Linked DNA regions of Homo sapiens: region 2 is linked to region 1. Evidence: promoter capture Hi-C in 16 types of primary human blood cells and fetal thymus (Javierre and others, 2016). All regions are on one chromosome and are shown on one strand. Each heading gives the region's core, a stretch centred on a gene start or on the middle of the fragment in contact. The rest is flanking DNA. Distances are from core to core; before and after follow the strand shown. Region 1 holds the start of PDSS2 (decaprenyl diphosphate synthase subunit 2). Region 2 overlaps OSTM1 (osteoclastogenesis associated transmembrane protein 1).

Region 1 (6,005 bases), core at 1,767-4,266:
TAATTTTACTTATTTCATTTTATTTTGAGACAGGGTCTCTTGCCCAGACAGGTGTGCAGTGGCACAATCACGGCTCACAACAGCCTTGACCTCCCAGCTCAAGCAATCGCAATCCTCCCAAGCAGCTGGGACTACAGATGTGCATCCCCACGCCCAACTAATTTATTTTATTTTTTGTAGAGATAGGGTTTTGCTATGTTGCCCAGGCTGGTCTCGAACTCCTGGGCTCAAGCAATCTTTCTACTTTGCCTCCCAAAGTGCTGGGATCACAGACATGAGACACCACACCAGGACCCCTGGTAATTTTGAAAAGGAAAAGTGTTTAAAAACAGTTTAGTGGGAGTCAGGGAGATGGACTGAGGAGTACACATTTAGCTTCAACAGGACTGGTAAAGTTACAATTCTTAAGTTGGGTAATAGTAGGCTTATTCGTTTCATTAAGCTTTAAACATATGTGTATGTGTTTTGAGTGTGTATCATCTAGAATCTCTGGAAAACTAACATTCCAGCTAATCATAAGGTGACATTCCTGATAACTGGGAACGATGCCAAGGAATAAAATCACTTTATTATTACTATTTGATAACTTTTGTAGTAAGAAAATGACAGGTGCCTCGAAAAATTAAAGCAAGGGGTGGGTAAGGGAAGTGAGTGTGGCTAAAAAAGCAACATGAGGAATCCTTATAGTGCTGAATATGTTCTTTATCTTAACTGTATCAACATAAATACCCTGCTTATGATATTACACCATCGTTTCAAAAGATGTTACCATTGGGAGAAACAGGGTTAGGTGTATATTAGATTTGTGTTATTTCTTCCAACTGCATGTAAATCTAAAACTACTTCAAAATAGAAGTTTACTTTTAAAAACAACAATAGAAAAAGGTCCTTTTAGTCCTGGATTTCTCCACCTTGGCACTACTGACATTTTGCAGCACCTAATTATTTCTTGTGGGTCTGTCCTGGGAATTGAAGGGTAGCATCCCTGGCCTCTATCCACTAAATGCCAGTAATGTGCCTCCATTCGTGACAACCAAAAATGTCTCCATACATGCCAAATGTCCTCAGGGGGGGAAAATTGCCCCAGTTGAGAACCAGTGCTCTAGTCATAAAAGCCAAGAAGAGATATGAAAATGTTCCTAATTGAAGAAGATGAAAGAGATATAACAACTAAACGCAATACTTGATCCTGGACTGAATCCTGTCCTGGAGGGTAAAGAATGCTATAAAGAACATTATTAGGCCAATTAACAAAATTGAAATTAAATGGTAGATTAAATAAAAGTATTGTATCAATATTAAATATACCTAAGTTGGTAACTGTAGCGTACTTACGTAGGAGATTACTGCTATGCTTAGGAAATACATACTGAAGTATTTAGGGGAAAAGGATCGTGATGTATGCAATCTACCATCAAATGATTCAGAAAAAAATATATAGAAAGATATATACACGTGAATAGTATATATATCTGTGTGTATATGTATTTAATGTATATATTGACATATATAGACATATCTACGTAGCAGGTGGATCTGATTAAAGAGTATGCAAGTGTGTTCTTTGAACTATATTATTTTTGTAACTTCGCTGTATGTTTAAACTAATTACAATTCAGGTGTGGGGTTTAAGTGGAAGAAAAAAAAAAAACTTTTGGCCGGGCACGGTGGCTCACGCCTGTAATCCCAGCACTTTGGGAGGCCGAGGCGGGTGGATCACGAGGTCAGGAGATTGAGACGATCCTGGCTAACACGGTGAAACCCCGTATCTACTAAAAATACAAAAACAAAATTAGCCGGACGTGGTGGCGGGCACCTGTAGTCCCAGCTACTCCCGCCTGGGCGACAAAGCGAGACTCCGTCTCAAAAAAAAAAAAAAAAAAAACTTTTATAAATCCTAAAGGCAGGTTTCACAGCAGTAGTACAGCATAAGTGATAAACATCCCAAGAAGATAATGACTACTAACGGGATAAATTCCTACTTCAACCCCAAGACATTCGTTGGAAAGAATTATCTACCTTCAGCCTCTCTCTCTCTCCTTGCCTACTTTCTGGAGGTGACCCCCTGAACAGTGCGGGACAGAAAATTAATCTATCCCATTAAAAAAAAAAAAAATTTCTAGGAAGTGACTCAATAAACCTACATCTCCGCTCGATTTCTCCACAAATCACTGAGGCATCTTCATCCTCAACAATTAAGAAGCAAAATCGAGGAAAGCATACAAGTGTTTCAAAGAAAACCACTTATGCACTCAGCTGAGCAAGAACGTTAAGTGGACTAGAGAAGAGACAACACGGAATGTCTAGGAGGAGTGAGTAAAAAGGAAGGACTAAAAAGAGATAAATCAGGAGCCAGTCTGAGAGAGCTAGAATGCGTATGCCCGCCAGAAAAAAAAGTATTCCAATGAGTGCGAGTGTGTCAGCGGGAGAGGGGTAGCTCACCTGGCTGTGGTAAGCAGAGGGTGCTGAGTGCCCACCAGCTTCCGCACCTGCATAGCGATGTTGCTGAGCTCGTCGCTCAGCAGGCAGCGAAGGCTCATGAAGGACGTGGGGTACCCCACGATCTTCTCCGCCTCTGACACTACCTGATTCCAGTGGGCCGGGGACTTGGAGGACCGACCACGCCAAGAGCCCACCGAGGAGATGGTGTCGAGGGACGGGGACCACCACAGGCGACGCGGGGAACCCGAGGCTCCAAGATAACGTGGCAAGTGCAACAGCAGCTGCCGAAAGTTCATGGTTTGAGTCTGGAAGGGTCTGGGACCTGGGGGTATCCAGAAGTGCCGCGGGAAACAAACCAGGGGCAGAGGAGGAACTTACAGTAACTAAAAGGAAGCGGCAATTCTTGACCCTCAGAGTAAGGTGGCTTCCTGGAGCAGTGACCAGAAACGAACTTTAACTGCTGCTTTCTGCAGCCCAGGCTGGGCAAACAACAGTCCCAGCTCAGCACTGCCCCCGGCCACCCGGGGTAGAAACCACAGCCACTGCCTATGTGGAGGACGCCATATTGGAGGCATGGAATGCGGCCTGCCGTAAAGACAGAGGCGGGTTGTTAAGTATACTCTCTACTTTACGGCGTACCCGAGAACGCCCCCGCAGGGGCGGTGCTTTGGAGGTGAACCCGGGTTGGGAGGTTCAGCTCCTCCCACCCCGCCGCTCTGGGCCAGCAAAGGTCGTCAGTGACAGGGATCAGTTGTGGGCGGCGAGTGGTCCCTCTGCACACGGTATCTGGGCCGAGTCTGGATTCATTAGAGTCCCCGGCGCCCAGCACTGAGTGGCATGCATAAGTATTGGTGTCACGAACAACGGTCAGCCCCCGGCTTGCCCGCAAGGAAGGGCGTCGGGCGGAGGCACCAGTTCCTCCCGGAAGCTTTTTGTCGCTATCGCCACCAGCCCCTGGCAGTGGCAGTGGCCGTGGCCGGGCGTGAAGGCGGCCTCTCGGGCTGCATGCCTCCTGGAGCTGGGGCCACGTCTCAGTGGTGGAACGCCTAGTCGGGGCGTGGGGCTGAGCCCTCGTGTCCTCAGGGCCCAACCAGACATAAGGCAGCGTGGTGCGGCGGAAAGGGGTCCCAAGGAAAGTCCTCGGATCCAACTTCGAATTACCGGCCTCCTCGCTGAGCCTTGGGAGAAACAGCGGTGCCTCCTTCCCGCGGGTGCGGAGAGGAAGAATGAAACGTTGCCTACTCCCTGCCTCTTATCTTCCTCTTTATGCCTAGCCTGGAGCTCAACTCCAGGATTGAAGACTATCGCTGACCGGAGTGCTTTTCACGTACTAGTTCATGTATTACTTTATTTAATCCTCAGAACAACCTCATTAAGTAGATAATATTAGTATTCTCCGTGTTTTGTATGAGGAAACTAAGGTGCAGTCGAGTCGCGTAAGTTCCCTAAGACCACACTAGACAGGGATGTGAGCCCAGACAATCTGGTTTCAGAATCCGTATTCTAACCGAAAGATTACACCGTCTAAATAATAGGCTCCCATCCACTCTTTTCTCCTTATTGCTGAGAGGAAACAGTCAATATGATTATCTTTTAAGTAATGCTACCTATTTTTTTTTCAAATGTGCCTAAGATCTTACCTCCTTTCTTATCACCTAAAACAGGTGTTAACCGTTCTTAATAAAGGATATATTATCCATTTTTTACACTCTTAAAAATAGCTTATAAAACTCTCTAAAACTTTCAAAATCCTTCCAAATTCATGGTATTTTATTTTTATTTTTTATTTATTTTTTGAGATGGGTCTTGCTCTGTCACCCAAGCTGGAGTACAGCGGCGCGATTTCAGCTCACTGCAACCTCCGCCTCCCAGTTTCAAGCAATTCTTGTGCCTCAGCCTCCCAAGTGGCTGGGACTACAGGCGCCTGCCACCACGCCCGGCTAACTTTTGTATTTTTAGTAGAGACTGGGTTTCACCATGTTGACCAGGCTGGTCTCAAACTCCTGACCTCGAGTGATCCGCCCACTTCGGCTTCCCAAAGTGCTGGGATTACAGGTGTGAGCTACCAGCTACCATGCCCAGCCTGTCAGTATTTTTTAAATGAGCATCATGCATAATACTGTACCAGCCTCTTGAGCTACAAATAAAGATTGGGACTTAAAGAGTAGTTGTTCACTTTGCAAAACAAGATGATTTTCTCTACAAAAGATTTAGCTTCATACTCTCCCTTTGGCAAGTTTTCCTTGTGATTTAAATTTTTTATTTACAAAAATTCAGTTTAGGTGTAACTTTTCAGGGGCACATTTTATTTAACATGAATTGTGATTATAAGTATCAAACACAGTCTATGCCCTTAAAGTAAGTAAGCTGAAGTTTGAAAATAATTCCTGTGAAAGAGATAAACTCTTGGCAACAAAATTCAGGTCTGTTAGGAGATGAAAATAAATATGGAGAGTGAGATACTTTACCATTCCAGGAGATGAAAATAAATATGGAGAGTGAGATACTTTACCATTCCAAAAAGTTCCAAGGCCAGAGCTTCTGGGTTATCCAAGGTGAAAGAAGTCATGAAAATACAAAGATAGATAGAGACTAATGTGATATATTGTGCACCTGAGGCTGTTTCTTCAGCCTCATGGTACCTTAAGGGTAACTTTTCACGCAATTTCCTCAATAGCAATTCACAGCATGTACTTTAATTTCTCCACAGAAGCCAAGTGCATTATTCTCTGGTCATACTCTATTAACCAAGTTTTTGATTATTCATGGGACTTTGGGTCCCATTTACTTTAAATAATCAGCATTTTCCTTTATACTTACAGTTAAAAGGTTGCATTATACTTAATGATAATCAGTTTTTAGAAGGTTAAAATGGTATTTGTTCTTTAATCTCCCAGATAAATATATAATTCCTTAGAGTCTTTATGATTAAAGAAATTTCTGAATTGCTAGTGACTTTTGGAGAAACAGGGAGGGGGAGTATCTGTGATTCTGCCCTTCCTCTGCCACTGATAATAGTTATATTAAAGATGTCTGTGAATGTGTGCATAAAGAAAGAATACAGCAGGATTTCTCAGCCTTGGCATTTTTGGCGTTTTGGACCAGATAATTCTTTGTTGGGGGAAGGGGGGCAGTCCTGAGTATTGTACGGTGTTGAGTAGCATTCCTGACCTCTACGTACTAGATGTTAAGCAGCACCCCTTTCCAAGTTGTGACAACGAGGTATGTCTCCAAACATTACCAAATGTCTGTCACCCTGGAGTGCAAAATTGCCCACTGGGAAATGGGAGATGCTGAAAGAAAAAAACAGTGTCCATCCATGACATTTACTCCTACAAAGCAGCAAAAAAGAAGTCCTGGGTGTGAGTAGCCCTGCAGGTTAGAGAGTGGTCACTCCACAACCTATGGAAACTTTCAGCCACACTCAGGGACTTCCCCTTGGCATCGGAGTTGTTTTGGAGACAGCACGCTGACAAAAAATGATCACAGTTCCTCCTCTACCTTTTTCAGGATTCTGAAGCTTATACCAGTAGAACTCACTGGGCACTCTGCATTCTACTGAC
Region 2 (6,005 bases), core at 1,082-3,581, 590 kb after region 1:
TAACTAAATACAAAATTTCCTAAATTATCTCATCATCACAAACCCTCACTTATCTATCCTACTCTCACTGAATAAATAAAATAGGTTCCTGCCTATGCTGACTTGAACACCATAGTTTATCTTACTGAGACAGAACTTTTTAAATGGAAAGGGAAAAGGCACCAAAACTGCATCCCCACTCAACTCTCTTATCACAAGGCTCATAATCCAGGCCTTTCTAGTCAACAAAAAGGGCCAAATACCAAAGAATTGTATAACCTAAAATGAGGATAGTGGAGGTACATAAAATATTATGCTACTAAATCTCAATATTTTGTACTTCTAGACTGACACTTGTCTTTTCAAGAATAAGTTTGCTAAACAGTCAGTTCACACCTTTGCTTTCTATGCCCTTTATTCTTTACTTTGTAGTATGAAGAAAGAATATTAACTGAACATTGGGATGAAAGAGAAAAGAGAAAAATCAAAGTAATTACACTGATGTTGGCCCAACAATGTTACCCTCACCATCTGCTTGACAGAAAAACTAAGTCTCTCCTTAGTCTGCTACAAGAAATAGCCCATTGCTTGTTTTTCACAGAACAATTGTGCACTTAGTTAAAAATTGAGCACAGGGCTGGGCGCGATGGTTCACACCTGTAAACCCAGCACTTTGGGAGGCCGAGGTGGGCGGATCACAAGGTCAGGAGATCGAGACCATCCTGGCTAACACGGTGAAACCCCATCTCTACTAAAAATACAAAACTTAGCCGGGCGTGGTGGCGGGCACCTGTAGTCCCAGCTACTTGGGAGGCTGAGGCAGGAGAATGGCGTGAACCCGGGAGGCGGAGCTTGCAGTGAGCCGAGATCGCGCCACTGCACTCTAGCCCGGGTGACAGAGCGAGACTCCGTCTCAAAAAAAAAAAAAAAAATTGAGCACATAATCCATTTAACTAAAATTGTGCACATAATCTAGATGGGGAGTAATTTAACCTTTTTTTTTTTTTTTTTTTTTGAGACACGGTCTTGCTATTTTGCCCAGGCTAATTTCTAACTCCTGGGCTCAAATGATCCTCCCACCTCAACCTTCCAAAGTGCTGGGATTACAGGCAGGTGCCACCATACCTGGCCACAATTTTTATTCAAATTTAAAATGCACATATCTTTTAATAATGTGAAAGTTGCAGACATTAGGATGAAATCACCTTTTGACAGACCAAGACAAAATAGAGACAAAAAGAGTCCTTGTTTCCAAAGACTTTCTAAAAACCCCACAAGAAATCCTTTCACGCCCTTCATTGCAACTCCTGCTTTCACATGGTTTATCACTGCCATTCTTTAGGACTGCAGTAATTCAGATAAGATGCACTCAAAAGAACACTTGCCCAGTAATGGCATCGCCACCAATGAACTGACAACTTGGCTTTGAGCCTCAGGAACCAATGAACTCAGTTTCCAAGCAGCTTGTGTGAACCTCTCCCTTTTTGCTAATAAAAGCTTCCCTTTACCCTTCCCTCACTGGATGTACTGGTGGTTTGCCAGTGCATTCCAAATTACCATACTTCTTTCTTATTCCCTAATAAACTCATCATATTTGGAGATAATTTTCTCTAGTGTCTTTTTCTTAGGCTGCCAATATAGTAATTCTACTTCTAGAAATCTACCAAACTCATACAAGTACTCTAAGTTAAATGAAAAGAAGACTGTTTATGGTGTACAATTTAAAACTTATTATTTCCAGAATTTTCCATTTAATATTTTTGGACTGCAGTTGGCCACAGGTAACTGAAACTGTGGAAAGTGAAGCCATATATAAAAGGGATGACTTTATAGAAAAATTGCTATTTGAGTGTTACAACACACATCAGTCCACTAAAGGCTCTGAAGTCCTGTAGTAAAGCATTTCCCAACCTTAATGGAATACTAAACCCTTTCTGATAGGACATCTATTAACATGCTGCAGAACAAATTCTGAGAAATGTTCACCTAATTTTTTTTATTTTATTTTTTTGAGACAGAGTCTCTCTGCAACGCCCAGGCTGGAGTGCAATGGCACGATCTCAACTCACTGCAACCTCTACTTCACTACAGGCGTGCACCACCAAGCCTGGCTAAGTTTTGTATTTTTAGTAGAGACAGGGTTTCACCATATTGGCCAGGTTGATCTCGAACTCCTGACCTCAAGTGACCTGCCTGCCTTGGCCTCCCAAGGTGCTGGGATTATAGGCATGAGATACTGCACCTGGCCCAATTTTTATTATTCTCAAGGAAATTCATAATTCAGTGTTACCACATTTATTACAGAAGAAATCATACATGCTTATACCCTAAGCATGTGTACATCTACTATGGGGATTACTTACTTGTTATGTAAGTTTCAAAACTACATTTTAACCAGAGTTCCAACCTCGTCCTTCACCACGACCGGGCAAGTTCCAATACCAAAATTCAAGAGTCAGAGATAGAGATGGCAATAATCTACAAGGTTAAGATTCTTAAAGCTACCTTTTATTATCATAATTCAATACTCAAAGTTATCTTACTAAACAGTGCTTTTTAAGGTAGGTAAAACATACTTAAGCAAATTTCAGGCAAAGAATAAACTTCCTATAGACAGAATCATACTACACTGCAAAATACCTACGTAAGTCAGATTGAAAACCATTGTGTTTTAATTAAACAATCACACACCTCAATCAATGTTTTCACAATCATTATCTCACCAGATTCTCATTACAAAATACTTTAAGATAGGCAGGATAGATATTATCTCCATTTTACAATGAGAGAACTGAGGTTTTCATGATTTGTAAGTAGAAGAACTTACTTAAGAGCAGAAATCCAGGTCCACTAACTCCTTTACATCATGAATTTAGATAAATATCAATAATTAGTGCTCTAAAAACTTGGAACTGCACATTATTCCTTTGTACAAGGCAGCATTTTAATTTTAAATATTATATATAAAATACCTGAAGGTTATGTTCAAAGCAGGTCAGGGTGTGATTAAATAGATTAAGGAAATATACTGTGCTGTTTGATAATTCTTCACTGTTGTTTGTTAAACAATCTGTCAAAAAAATTCAAAAAGTATATTAATATAACTCAAGGAACAATTCTATGTTGTCATTTATATCTTAAGCTATCAGCTTCGTTTCACACTACAGTAATTCTTTATTCAAACAAGCATGAATTTTCCAAATATATGAAGCTTACTCCTTTTATTTTCCAAAAGTTAAAAAAGTCATAACCATTTTCATGAACATGTTAAAATAATCACATACTCTCTTTTCATAAAAATATACCAAATAAAATTCAAATGGACTTTTGATGGCACAAGGTCATAATCACGGAATATCAGCTATCAAATGCTGCCTTAACAGTGCTATTTAGGCATAAGACTGTTTACCCTGCATTAATTTTACCGAAACTCATATGCCTTATCATTTTTTGTGTCAAATTTCATAGTTCTCTGCATCTTCCAACTTCACTAATGAGTCATTTATTGTACCTAATGGGGTAACTTTTAAAATTCGCTCTTTCTAATCCATCACGAGTTGGGAGCCCAGAGAAACAAACTGGTGAGAATTTTGCCTAAAATACTGACGTGGGGGCTTCAAGTAAAGTCTAGAAACAAAATTGTTTTACATTTTTAAAAATCCTACATAAATGGTATTTCTCTGCAACTGGCTATTCTTGCTTAGAGTTAGCTCAAGTTCACTCATCCCTTTTATTTTCTATGTATGTGTATATCACAATTTATGTATCCATTTTCCCTTCTTCAGGGAATAATCTATTCTTCTTTTTTTTTTTAAGAAACGGGGTCTTGCTCGGTTGCCCAGGCTGGAGTGCAGTGGCACAATTTGCCAGCTCATTGCAGACTTGAACTCCTGGGCGCAAGTGATGTTCCCACCTCAACCTTCCAAAGTGCTGGGATTACTTAAAGGCATGAGCCACTGCGCTCAGCCAGGGAACCTAGTCTTTATCCTCAGGTAAACCTTTGTCTTTACCTCTCCTTGTGTTCTCAGCCTGCTATCTCCAATCGAGGTTCAACTGCCTGGTTCCAGATCTTGGAACTTGTGGTCAGTCGTTTCCATCTGACTCTCCTAGAATCCTTGCCCTCTTTATCTTCCACATATTCACAGCCATTTTCATCCCTGGACAGTCCCCATCTACTTTCTGTACTCTCAGTCTGGTTACAGAATACTACTACAGAAATTCTAAAATGATAATGAAGGGACTCAATTCAAATTCATGTGTTCTGATCTCGGGGCAACAAAATGATCCTTGTAGATGCCCTCCTAATTGCTCTGCAAGGGATGTTCCACATATTTTCTCATCTCTAGTCCCAGCCCTACTCTTGTTCCCCTTAATTTCAACAGATGGCTTTGTATTATGCCCACCTTATTTAGAAATTCAGGGCCATCAGATAGGATCTCTCTCAACTGGAAGTGGAAAGACAACATGCAAAGCTATTGCAATTACCCAGGAGAAAGGCAGCAAGGCAAGTAGAATTTGTGGAGAAAAGAGAGACGGACTAGGTAGACACTAGGATATGACACACTAAGGGACATCCATGTACTCTGACAGACAACAATTACTACAACGAAAGTTAACACTTACTAAATACTTGCTATGTTCTAAGAACTATGCTTACACTGCACTTTAAACACATTTGCCCATTTAATTCTTGCAGTGATTCCATGAGGGAAAAATTATCATTATCTCCATTTTATAAATAAGGAACAGAGATAGGTTTAGATAAATTAAGGAAGTTGCCCAAGGACATAAAACTGGTAAGTAAAAAGCTAGACTCTGTACTCAGTCTGATTCTTGAGCCTGCACTCTCAAACACTGCAAAATAAACATATTTATATCTACATTCTAAACCATTAAAAGTTCAAGACTCGGAATCTACAAATACATGCCACTGCCTACTCCCTCCACTACCCATAGATATCTTACACCATACAGGGATTCAGGCAGTCCCCACCAACTGATCAGAGTTAGCAACTGAGATGAAACCTAAACCTGGTAGACAGGGGCAGACAGCACAGTAAAGCTCCTTTGTGCAAATCAGAAAAAGATATTCCCTCTGGGTAGATAAATTACAAAAGGTCATTCCTGCCTCCAGAAGCTAAGCTGGAATTCAGCCCCATTCACCTCCTTGTACAGCCCCCTTGTGCAGGGCTCCTTCTGCACCCATTGTACACAGGATCCTCTTGGTAAACCTATTTCAGGAGTTGTCCCCTCTCTGAACTCACATACTCTACATTCTCTGAAGCTTTATCTTCTCCAGAACATGAATCTCATTCTAACTTCTCACCCTTATTTAAAAAATCTGAGGGATCACTACAAATTAGGAAACTAAGCCACAGAAATAGGTGATATGCTGATGATCATACCACAAGTTAATAAGCCATTGATATAAAAATAGGCCAGCATGGTGGTTCACACCTGTAATCCCAGCATTTTGGGAGGCAGGTGGATTGCCTGAGTCCAGGAGTTCGAGACCAGCCTGGGCAACATGGTGAAAACCTGTCTCTACAAATAATACAAAATTAGCCAGGCATGGTGGCGTGCATCTGTGGTCCCAGCGGCTTGGGAGGCTGAGAGGGGAGAATTGCTTCAGCTTGGGGAGGTCGAGGCTGCAATAAGCTGTGATTGCGCCACTGCATTCCAACCTGCATGAAAGAGTAAGAACTTGTCTCATTGCCCCTCTTAATGCTAGTTTAATATCATCATGAAGTAGCCCGCAATCCTTTTAGGGATGAGGCAGAGTTGATATAAATAAAAACAAACAATTACATAGTTTTTGTACATGTTTACAAAAACAATTATATAGTTTTTGTAGTTGATGTGTTGCAGGGAAGTTAAGGGAACACAATTTCATTCACAACAGTTGTACATCTGTGTTATAATGAGCTATGTCGTGACAACTGACATAACAATATAGGGATAAAAGGGGTCCACATACTGCCAGCAAAAGTAGTATAAAGTGCATTATCATGAGAGAGCAATAGCAA

What was found. The method cuts DNA at HindIII sites, captures the fragments that hold promoters and counts their contacts. A CHiCAGO score of 5 or more calls a contact.
Region 2: a contact is called between a fragment that was not itself captured here and the fragment with the promoter of PDSS2 in region 1, in 2 of 17 cell types (naive B cells and total B cells). The highest score is 6.3, in naive B cells.

The regions. Positions count from the first base shown.
Region 1 is chr6:107,456,548-107,462,552 of GRCh38, forward strand. It overlaps PDSS2 (decaprenyl diphosphate synthase subunit 2), which reads right to left and starts at 3,017. Exons shown (of 8, transcript NM_020381.4): 1 at 2,443-3,017. The coding sequence starts at 2,738. RefSeq lists enhancers at 2,888-3,337, 3,058-3,979. The HindIII fragment of the contact is 2,928 bases long and covers 441-3,368 here.
Region 2 is chr6:108,051,539-108,057,543 of GRCh38, forward strand. OSTM1 (osteoclastogenesis associated transmembrane protein 1) reads right to left here. Exons shown (of 6, transcript NM_014028.4): 3 at 2,952-3,049. Among named protein-coding and RNA genes, the nearest start is that of OSTM1, 20 kb to the right of the region's middle. The HindIII fragment of the contact is 1,714 bases long and covers 1,475-3,188 here.